Regions from separate parts of the Homo sapiens genome. Here region 2 is linked to region 1. Evidence: promoter capture Hi-C in 16 types of primary human blood cells and fetal thymus (Javierre and others, 2016). All regions are on one chromosome and are shown on one strand. The core of a region is centred on a gene start or on the middle of the fragment in contact, and the rest is flanking DNA. Distances in the headings are between cores, read along the strand shown.

What was found. The method cuts DNA at HindIII sites, captures the fragments that hold promoters and counts their contacts. A CHiCAGO score of 5 or more calls a contact.
Region 2: a fragment that was not itself captured here is called in contact with the fragment with the promoter of MOB3C in region 1 in 1 of 17 cell types (neutrophils); the score reaches 5.3 in neutrophils.

The regions. Positions count from the first base shown.
Region 1 is chr1:46,615,174-46,619,326 of GRCh38, forward strand. It overlaps MOB3C (MOB kinase activator 3C), which reads right to left and starts at 1,638. Exons shown (of 4, transcript NM_201403.3): 1 at 1,538-1,638. RefSeq lists an enhancer at 1,063-1,132 and a silencer at 1,533-1,812. The HindIII fragment of the contact is 4,243 bases long and covers 348-4,153 here.
Region 2 is chr1:46,255,430-46,260,084 of GRCh38, forward strand. RAD54L (RAD54 like) reads left to right here. Exons shown (of 18, transcript NM_003579.4): 4 at 3,257-3,317; 5 at 4,535-4,655. Among named protein-coding and RNA genes, the nearest start is that of RAD54L, 10 kb to the left of the region's middle. The HindIII fragment of the contact is 3,509 bases long and covers 1-3,400 here.

The sequences.
Region 1 (4,153 bases), core at 388-2,887:
CCCCTTTATGACAGTTAGAAATAGGCCCCCACCCTGGCATTCAGCACCTTGTCCTACCTTTCCTGCCCCACTTCCCACCTCCCCACACCAACCACCCTGGGCTTCTTCCTGATTCCTGAACACGCCCCCACTCTTTTGCCTCTGCATGTTTTCTTATCCCTCCACCTGCCTGACCACACATCCTCAGATTGGCTGCTACCTCCTCCCACAGCCTCCTCTCCTGAACTCAGATCTCCTTCTCCTTGGGTAGAGGCTGCTTTTGGTCATTGCAGTCTCCACTCCATCCCCAACCCACCCCCAGCTTAGGACAAGGCCTGGCACAAAGTCAGTGTTCAGGCTTTAAGGAAAGCTTAGACTAGAATCTTAGAGTTAAAATAGCCCTGATAGATCAGCTGGCCCAACTCACTTGTACAGATGGGGAAACTGAGGCCCAGATGAGGAAACTGAGGCCTAAAAAGAGGACTTGAGGAGCCTGTGTCCACATAGCAAGTTACAAGCAGAACTGGGAACTGGGATAAGGTGGGGCTCAGCTCATGACCAAGAGTAAAAGACCATTTTCCTGCACTGGCTCATCAATGGTCTGGTGGAGACAGAGAAGAGGAGGGGAGTGGAGGGACAGTGGAAGCATCTTCTCCACCAAACAGCCCAACCTGCTTCCTGTCCCCAACACACTGACTCCGCACAGCAACTGGGGTGTCCTGACCAGTGAGCTAGAGTTCCACCTTACTCCTGTGGAACTTCAAGGCCTGGGTCTCTTTCCAGGAAAATGTAAGCTCAGGGGGTGGGTGCAGGGCAGGTGCTCTTCTAGCCACAGGGTTAACTCCCTTCACTCCCCACCCCCATGCCCTCACTGAGTTTCTATCTGTCACAGAACCTCTGTCTCTCCCTGAACCACTGCCGTTCCCCGTCCTAGCCCCCATTTCCCAGTGATGGCTATCCTTTCACTCCTGGAGTGGCAGTGCCTTGCTCGTTCCCTGGGTGCGGATCTGGGCTTCTCAAATGAAGACAGCAGGCTGACCCTACCTGTTTCTGATATTTAGCCCCCTGCTAGGCTACATCTACCACTCCTTGGGCCTGGCCCAGGATCTGGGCCAGAGGATGGCCCCAGTTTGAACCCAGAATCCATCCTGGGACTCTCTCTAGGACAGAGGTCGAAGAGAAAAAGTAGAGGCGAAGACTCCACGCTCTCCTCGCGGCGCGCAGCCACCCACGCCCACCCCCGGCTTCCCTGCAACCTCAAACCAGCTCCCAGGGCCAGGAAGGTCGTAGGACCCAGAGGAGCCCGCCTGACATTTCCGCTCCCCGAAAACACGCCCCCCAACCCCTCCCCTCTGCCCCGTACTCCCCCACCCCGACAATCCCCCCCGCAACTTTCGAAGCTCTGAGCCTCGGACGCCAGCCTCAGGACAGCGGCCAGCCTGCCTTCGGGCGGGACTCTCCTCCGGACTGTGCCACGCCAGGACGGCCGAAGAAATGAAAGTGGAAGCCAGGCGGGCGGGGTGCGCGGCGAGGCCGCAGGGGCACGGCGCACACTCACGGGTCCTCTTCTGGCCGTGGGGTCACATTCCCAGCCACAGGATCGCCTTTCTCCTGCAGGTCCCGCAGTGCCTGTTCTCTCTCCTGTCAGCCTGTCCGTCTGCCTGTCCTGCCGGCCGCGGCTGCCCTCCTGCCCCGGGCGACGCCAGCTCCGCCCCGGCCCCGCCACGCCGCGGCCACGGGGCGGGGAGGGGCGGAGAAAGGGGACTCCCCTCCACTCCAGTACACAGACGCACTCGCCCCCACCTTCCCGGAAAGTCCATATGGGGCTCCCAGCTTCCCCTTGGACAAAGGACTAACTGAGCTGCCCGCCCTCTCGGTGCTTCCTTGGACCTCCACCAAGGAGGCAGCCTCAAGTTCCCAGACAGTAAAATGGGAAAACGCTCGGCTTCTTCTGGAGCAGAAACAAGAGCTGCTAGATAAGGGTGGTTTCTTTGCCCTCCTAGAATCGTCTGCGTCACACTTGTCCCGGGACCCAATAAGGGATCGGGACCGTCCTATCCACTCCCATATCCTCAGCTCCTGGCACATAGCAGGAACTCAAAACCCACTTGATGAATGAATGAATGGGTGAGTGAAGGAATAAATGAACGCCTTGGGAATCATGAGCTGAGTCCTTCACCCCTGAGGGACAAGCCCCAGAAGAGCGCTCAAATCACAAACTTCATCTCCTCACCAGGGAGGGGGCCTGGCTCAGGTTGGGCTGATTCTCCTTGCTCCTTACCCAGAGTCACCCCATTTCTTATCTCCAGACCCTTATCCCAGCTGTTCCATTTTAGAATACCTTCTCTCCCTCCTTCCTTCTGACAAATCCAAACCACTCAAGATCTGATCTGCTCTCCCTACCACCTGGGTTCCTTCGAGGACAGACAGATATCCCACCAGCATTCAATGCACACCGTGGCCCCCAGGCCCAGGGACCAGTTGGCTGCTCTGTCTGGGATGGGAGGGAAGATTGGAGGCTTTCTAGGGTAGGAAGCCCAAAGCAGAGAGCTTAGCCATAGAAGCCACTCTGGAGGGGTGGGAGGTGAGTAGATGCGGGTAGGGGAGAGCTGGAGGCCAGAGGTGGGCATTTACCATGGCACACTGGACCTCCCTTGTGTCTGGACCTTCTGTTGCTGGATGACATGAGAACACGCTAGATCCTTAACCCAGATCATATCCTTTGCAGCAACATGGGCTGGAGCTGGAGGCCATTATCCTAAGCAGACTAACACAGGAATAGAAAACCAAATACTGCATATTCTCACTTACAAGTAGGAGCTAAACAATGAGAATACATAGATACTAGGAGGGGAACAGCAGACACTGGGGCCTGCTTGGGAGTGGAGGGCGGGAGGAGGGAGGATGAGACAAAAATACCCATCAGGTACTATGCTGCTTACCTCGGTGATGAAATTATCTGTACACCAAATCCCCATGACACAGAGTTTACTTATATAACAAACCTACACATGTACCCTTGAACCTAAAATAAAAGTAAAGAAAGAATCCCAGCTCATAGAACTGTGGGTATGTTCTTTTGTTGAGCACCAATTTTTGCCCCAGTCTAAAGTTCTCTGTATTTTTATGTCTGACTCTTAACTCTCTGCCCTGAATCCCCTATAAACAAACACTTGCTTATGGAGCAAATTAAACTATGCTTCTTTATTTATTTGATATCCTAATCAATATCTTTTATTGAGTATAACTCTCCACTCATATCAGATCAGGGGACTGGGTGATAAAGCTGACCTGGTTGCCGACCTCAGGTGCTGACAGGTCAGTAAAGGGGACAACACACAGAGATACACAAGGTCACAGCTCAGTCACCCAGAAGTGAGAATGTGGTTGTGGACTGACGGACTTTGTAAGAGTCGGGGTATTTGCAGGAAGCACATGGAACACCCAGAATGGGTATGTTTAATGAAGACATTATTTACAGGTATGGTCAAGGTGTAGGGAAACCACACAGTGTATCACCAAAGGGCTCACAAGAGCAGAGGCTGTCAACCCCAGGCTGCAGGAGTGTGGGGAAGGAATGGTGAAAGTGGGAGCTATGAGGAGGGCGCTGCTGTGGCCTAAGGTGGAGGGGCATACCCAGCTCACAGCAATCATACAGGGAAGGACAGGGGGCAAGTAAGAGGCCTCACTCTCCTCCCTCTCTCCCTCCGTCTGATCTCTGGCCAGGTTTCCCCCACTAGCTGAATCCTCCCAGAAGCTAAGAACAAGGGAACCTGTTGCTGCAGCCCATAGACGTCAGCCTCCTAGGGCGTAGAAATGGGTAGAGGGTGGAGAGCCATCTGAGGAGCCATGTGGGGTCAGGGCTGACTTCATAGGGGAAATGATTTGGAAACTGCTTGTGTTTTCCTTATCATTCAGTTCTAAATAGTTCATAAATTTCAGTGTAATTTCCTCTTTAACTCTTGAATGATTTCAAAGTATGTTTTTCAGTTTCTCAGCCTATGGGAGGTTTATGTTTTTCTTGTTGAGTTCTAATTATATTGCATTGTGGTCAGAGATCATGGTCTGGAAGATTCTTCAGAATTTGATGTGACTTCCTCTGCAGAGGCTTTGTGCAGGGTCATTTTCTGGACCTCTGAGCTGGGTTTTACAGGATAGGCAGGAGTTTTTCTGG
Region 2 (4,655 bases), core at 396-2,895, 360 kb before region 1:
CCCTGCCCCCTGCTATAGAGACTGGTGAGTCACCAAACCAGATCCCTGAAGGTTGGCCATTCCTTTTTTTTTTTTTTTTTTTTTTTTGAGACATAGTCTTGCTCTGTGACCCAGGCTGGAGTGCAGTGGCGCGATCTCGGCTCACTGCAGCCTCTGCCTCCCAGGTTCAAGTGATTCTTGTGCCTCAGCCTCCCAAGTAGCTGGAATTATAGGTGCCCGCCCCCACACCCAGCTCAGTTTTTTGTACTTTTAGCAGAGACGGGGTTTCACCATGTTGGCAAGGCAGATCTCGAACACCTGACCTCAGGTGACCTGCCCGCCTTGGCCTCCCAAAGTGCTGGGATTACAGGCGTGCACTGTGCCCAGCAGGCCATTCCATTTTGCAGGCTGAGCCCTCAGACATTTTTGGCCAGGGGTCTCCACATTCTTCCTTACCAGTTATGCAAGCCTGTAGTTCTCCCTGCAGAACCTATGGTTCCTGTGTTCTATTGAAAGTCTTTTTAAATTTAGGGCATAAATTCTTGGCTACTCAGAGCCTCAAATCTAGCCTTCTATACTGATAATTTTGAAAATATTTCTGTTTTAGAATTGATGCCAAATTAAAAAGAAAATTAGGGTCCATCTCCTTTTCCTCTCATTTGACTTAAGAGTAGCTTTTTTTTTTCCTTTGAGGCAGGTCTTGCTGTCACCCAGGCTGGAGTGCAGTGGTGTAGTTGTAGCTCACTGCAGCCTTGAACTCCTAGGCCAAGTGATCTTCCTGCCTCAGCCTTCTGAGTAGCTGGGACCATGTGCCACAGTGCCTGGGTAATTTTTAAATTTTGTGTACGGGGTGTGTGGGGGGGTCTCACTACGTTGCCTAGGGTGGTCTCAAAATCCTGGGCTTAAGCGGTCCTCCCACCTCAGCCTCCCAAAGCACTGGGGTTATAGGCATGAGCCACTGCACTGGCCAAGGGTCCTTTTTGTTAGCATTTTTCATAATGATTATCATTGCTATTCATAGTTACAGTCATGCTAATTAAAAATAGTAAAGGCTGGGCATAATGGCTCATGCCTATAATCCCAGCACTTTGGGAGGCCAAGGTGAGAAAGATCCCTTGAGCCAGGACTTAGAGAAAGATCCCTTGAGCCAGGACTTAGAGACTGCAGTGAGGTATGATCACCACTACTGTACTCCAGCCTGGGCGACAAAATGAGACCCTGTCTTTTAAAAAAAAAAAAAGTCAATAAAAGATTTTATTCAGATGCAAAGAAATTTGCAAATAAACAAAAGCATTTGAGTTTTTTGCCAACTTTGCCTTTATGTTATGTTATTTAGTGTGATGTTGTCATGTTATTTAGTGTGATAAGGAAGTTCATTTCTACATACTTGTTTTCTGTCTTCTAATATCACAAAAAAAATTCATTACTTTTTTTAAATTTAAAGTACATTTGAGGCCAGGTGTGATGGCTCATGCCTATAATCCCAGCACTTTGGGAGGCCAAGGTGGACGGATCACTTGAGGGCAGGAGTTCAAGACCAGCCTGGCCAACATGGTGAAACCCTGTTTCTACTAAAAATATCAAAATTAGCTAGGTGTGGTGGCGTGTGCCTGTAGTCCCAGCTACTTGGGAGGCTGAGGCAGGAGAATTGCTTGAACCTGGGAGGTGGAGGTTGCAGTGAGCTGAGATTGTGCCATTGCACTCCAGCCTGGGCAACAGAGCAAGACTCCATCTCAAAAAAAAAAAAAAAAAAAACCCCAAAAAACAAATAAAGTACATTTGAATTTCTAGACATTGATGATGTGTGAAGAAATGAGTCAGAAAACAAAGGTAAAAATATCACGGCAGGCTTGCTTTTTTTCCTATTAGACTATGTTTTTTGCTAGAAGGGACATTTTTTCATTACTGCTTTTTCCACTAATATATTCCCATTAAAACTACCTTCAGGGTCTCTGCTCTTTATTTCTCTGCTCTCTTGGCTTCCACCTCTGGTTTTGTTGAGGTTCACAGGCTATCACAGTTCCGCAAAGGGCTCAGGTGTGTGTGGACCAGAACTTCCATGGGAGCTGTCAGAGTTAGCTCAGTGTTAATTTTTCTGCCTTCTCTGCCCCTGCCCCAGCCCCATAGCCCATGGAATAATGCTGGTTCAAGGCAGAAGTGCTTGTACAGAGGCTTCTTGCCTTTAGGTGGAGGAGTCACCAGTGCTACCTCTCTAGGACCCACATATGTCTACCTGCTGTCACCCTTGTCCCACTTGCTTTTTCTTAGTGTTGGGCTTAGCTTCTCTCTCATGTCCCTTTCTCATGTTCCTTCTCTTGTGCTTTACATGGCAGGAAGCTGCTGGGTCTGGGCTGATCTGCATGGCTGTACTCAGAGTGGGTGAGAGGCCACGTTGCCTACTGAGTACAAGTAAGGACCCTAGAACCAGGAAAGTCCTGCATTTGTAATGGCTTTGTGACTTGAGAAAGTGACTTAATCACTCTGAGCCTCAGTTTGCTCATTTGTAAAATGGAAACACCAGTAATATATGGACCTCATACAGCTGTTAGGATTAAATGGTAACATGAATGCAAGAGGCTTAGCTCTGTGTCTAGCATACATTGGTAGCCATCATTATTTTTATTTATATTTTTAAATATATATTTTTAAAATAGAGATGGGGTCTTGCTATATTGCCCAGGCTGGTCTCGAACTCCCAGACCTAAGTGATCCTCCTGCCTTGGCCTCCCAAAGTGTTAGGATTACAGGTGTGAGCCACCATGCCCGGCCTGGTGTTGTTAATATTATTTTATTAATACGATGGCTCCCATTTCTCCATCACTACTCTTTGATGAGCTGTTTAGTTCCCAAGGAGGCTGATGTGAGTATTAGATATATTAGACATAACTGATGTAGCCAAAAAAAAAAAAAAAAGAATTGTGAGGTGTGCTTGGGAAGGTGTAACCCTATATGACAGTGGTTAAACCCAGACATTAGAATTATCCATTATTACTCAGGTTGGCTAAGTCTGTGGTATTTGCTTTCCAAGGTGCTATACCCTAGGGAAGAGCTAGGTATGCTCACTGGCATGGTTTTTAATGAGTGAATGGTTTCCTGGGTTCTAAGCCTCGTGGTTGACTGAGGCTGGGCCCTTCTGCTATCCCTGGATATTTGTAGAACCTTACATAAAGCCTCGAAGATGGATGCTGTTGTACAAAACCTAATGTGAAGCATATCATGATATTGTCCCATAACATCTCCAGTCAGTCCTGAATCCTTGTTTCTCCTTTCTTTTTAGGAAGCATTTATTCGAAGCATTTTGTCAAAGCCTTTCAAAGTCCCCATTCCAAATTATCAAGGTAAAATGGAGGTTTTTCTGTTTTTGAAATCAGTCATATGTACGTGTGCCTGAATAAATTAAAAACCTGCTTTTGTAAATACAAGCTTAGCTGGGAATTGAAGGTGCCAGTCCAGCGGTGGCTGTGTTTGGGGTGACCCTCCTGAGGCCTGCATGAAAACTGTGTTAGCCTCAGTAAGGGCTGCCAAGACTAACTGCCCCTCATCTTCTTGGTAGAGGTGTCCCGGTGCTCAGAAAGCTCCTGGTGGGCCAAGATGGCTGATGGACCTGGGCTTCATTCAATCCAAGTGCATTCAGTAGCATCCCTTTTATGAGGCTGACTGTGTGGGAGGCCTGGATTCTATAAGGTTTTTCCCTGTCTTATGTAGGGTACAGCATTATGCTAAAACTGGGGCTTGGAGGAATAGGGAGGCCAGCTTTCTCTCTCTCTCTTTTTTTTTTTTTAATTTAATAGAGATAGGATTTCACTATGTTGGCCAGGCTGATCTCGAACTCCTGGGCTCAAGCGATCCTCCCACCTCGACCTCTCAAAAAGTGTTGGGACTACAGGCTTGAGATACTACGCTTGGCTGTGGCCAGCTCTCAGGAGCTCTCAGAAAGCTCCATGAAAGTGCCCTTTAGAATTTCAGGCCTTCCCAGGATTGTCTTGAGTTGAAATGAACCAGATCTGGCACCTCAGAAGTTTGTAATTGAATGGGAGAAATAAAACGGGAAAAGCTCTGATTCAAAGCAGAAAAATTCTGGGGGCTGGGCATCGTGGCTCACGCCTGTAATACCAGCACTTTGGGAGGCCAAGGCGGGCAGATCACCAGAGGTCAGGAGTTCAAGACCAGCCTGGACAACATGGTGAAACCCTGTCTCTACTAAAAAAAATACAAAAATTAGCTGGGTGTGGTGGTGGGAGCCTATAATCCCAGCTTCTTGGGAGGCTGAGGCAGGAGAATTGCTTGAACCTGGGAGGCAGAGGTTGCAGTGAGCCGAGATTGTGCCACTGCACTCCAGCCTGGGCAACAAAGTGAGACTCCATCTCAAAAAAAAAAAAAAGCTGAATGGGATAATGGTCATATAGAGATGCCCAAACTGAGTTTGGAGGCATTCTCAGAGAGAGAGGGTCATATGGGAGCTCGGGAAAGGTTATGTGAAGGACAAGTATTTGAGCTGGGCTTGCTGGAGCTCCTAAACATAGATTCAGGTGACGGAATGATTATTGGTTTGTAGGTCCTCTGGGCTCTCGAGCATTGGGCCTGAAAAGGGCTGGGGTCCGCCGGGCCCTCCATGACCCCCTGGAAAAAGATGCCTTGGTTCTGTATGAGCCTCCCCCGCTGAGCGCTCATGACCA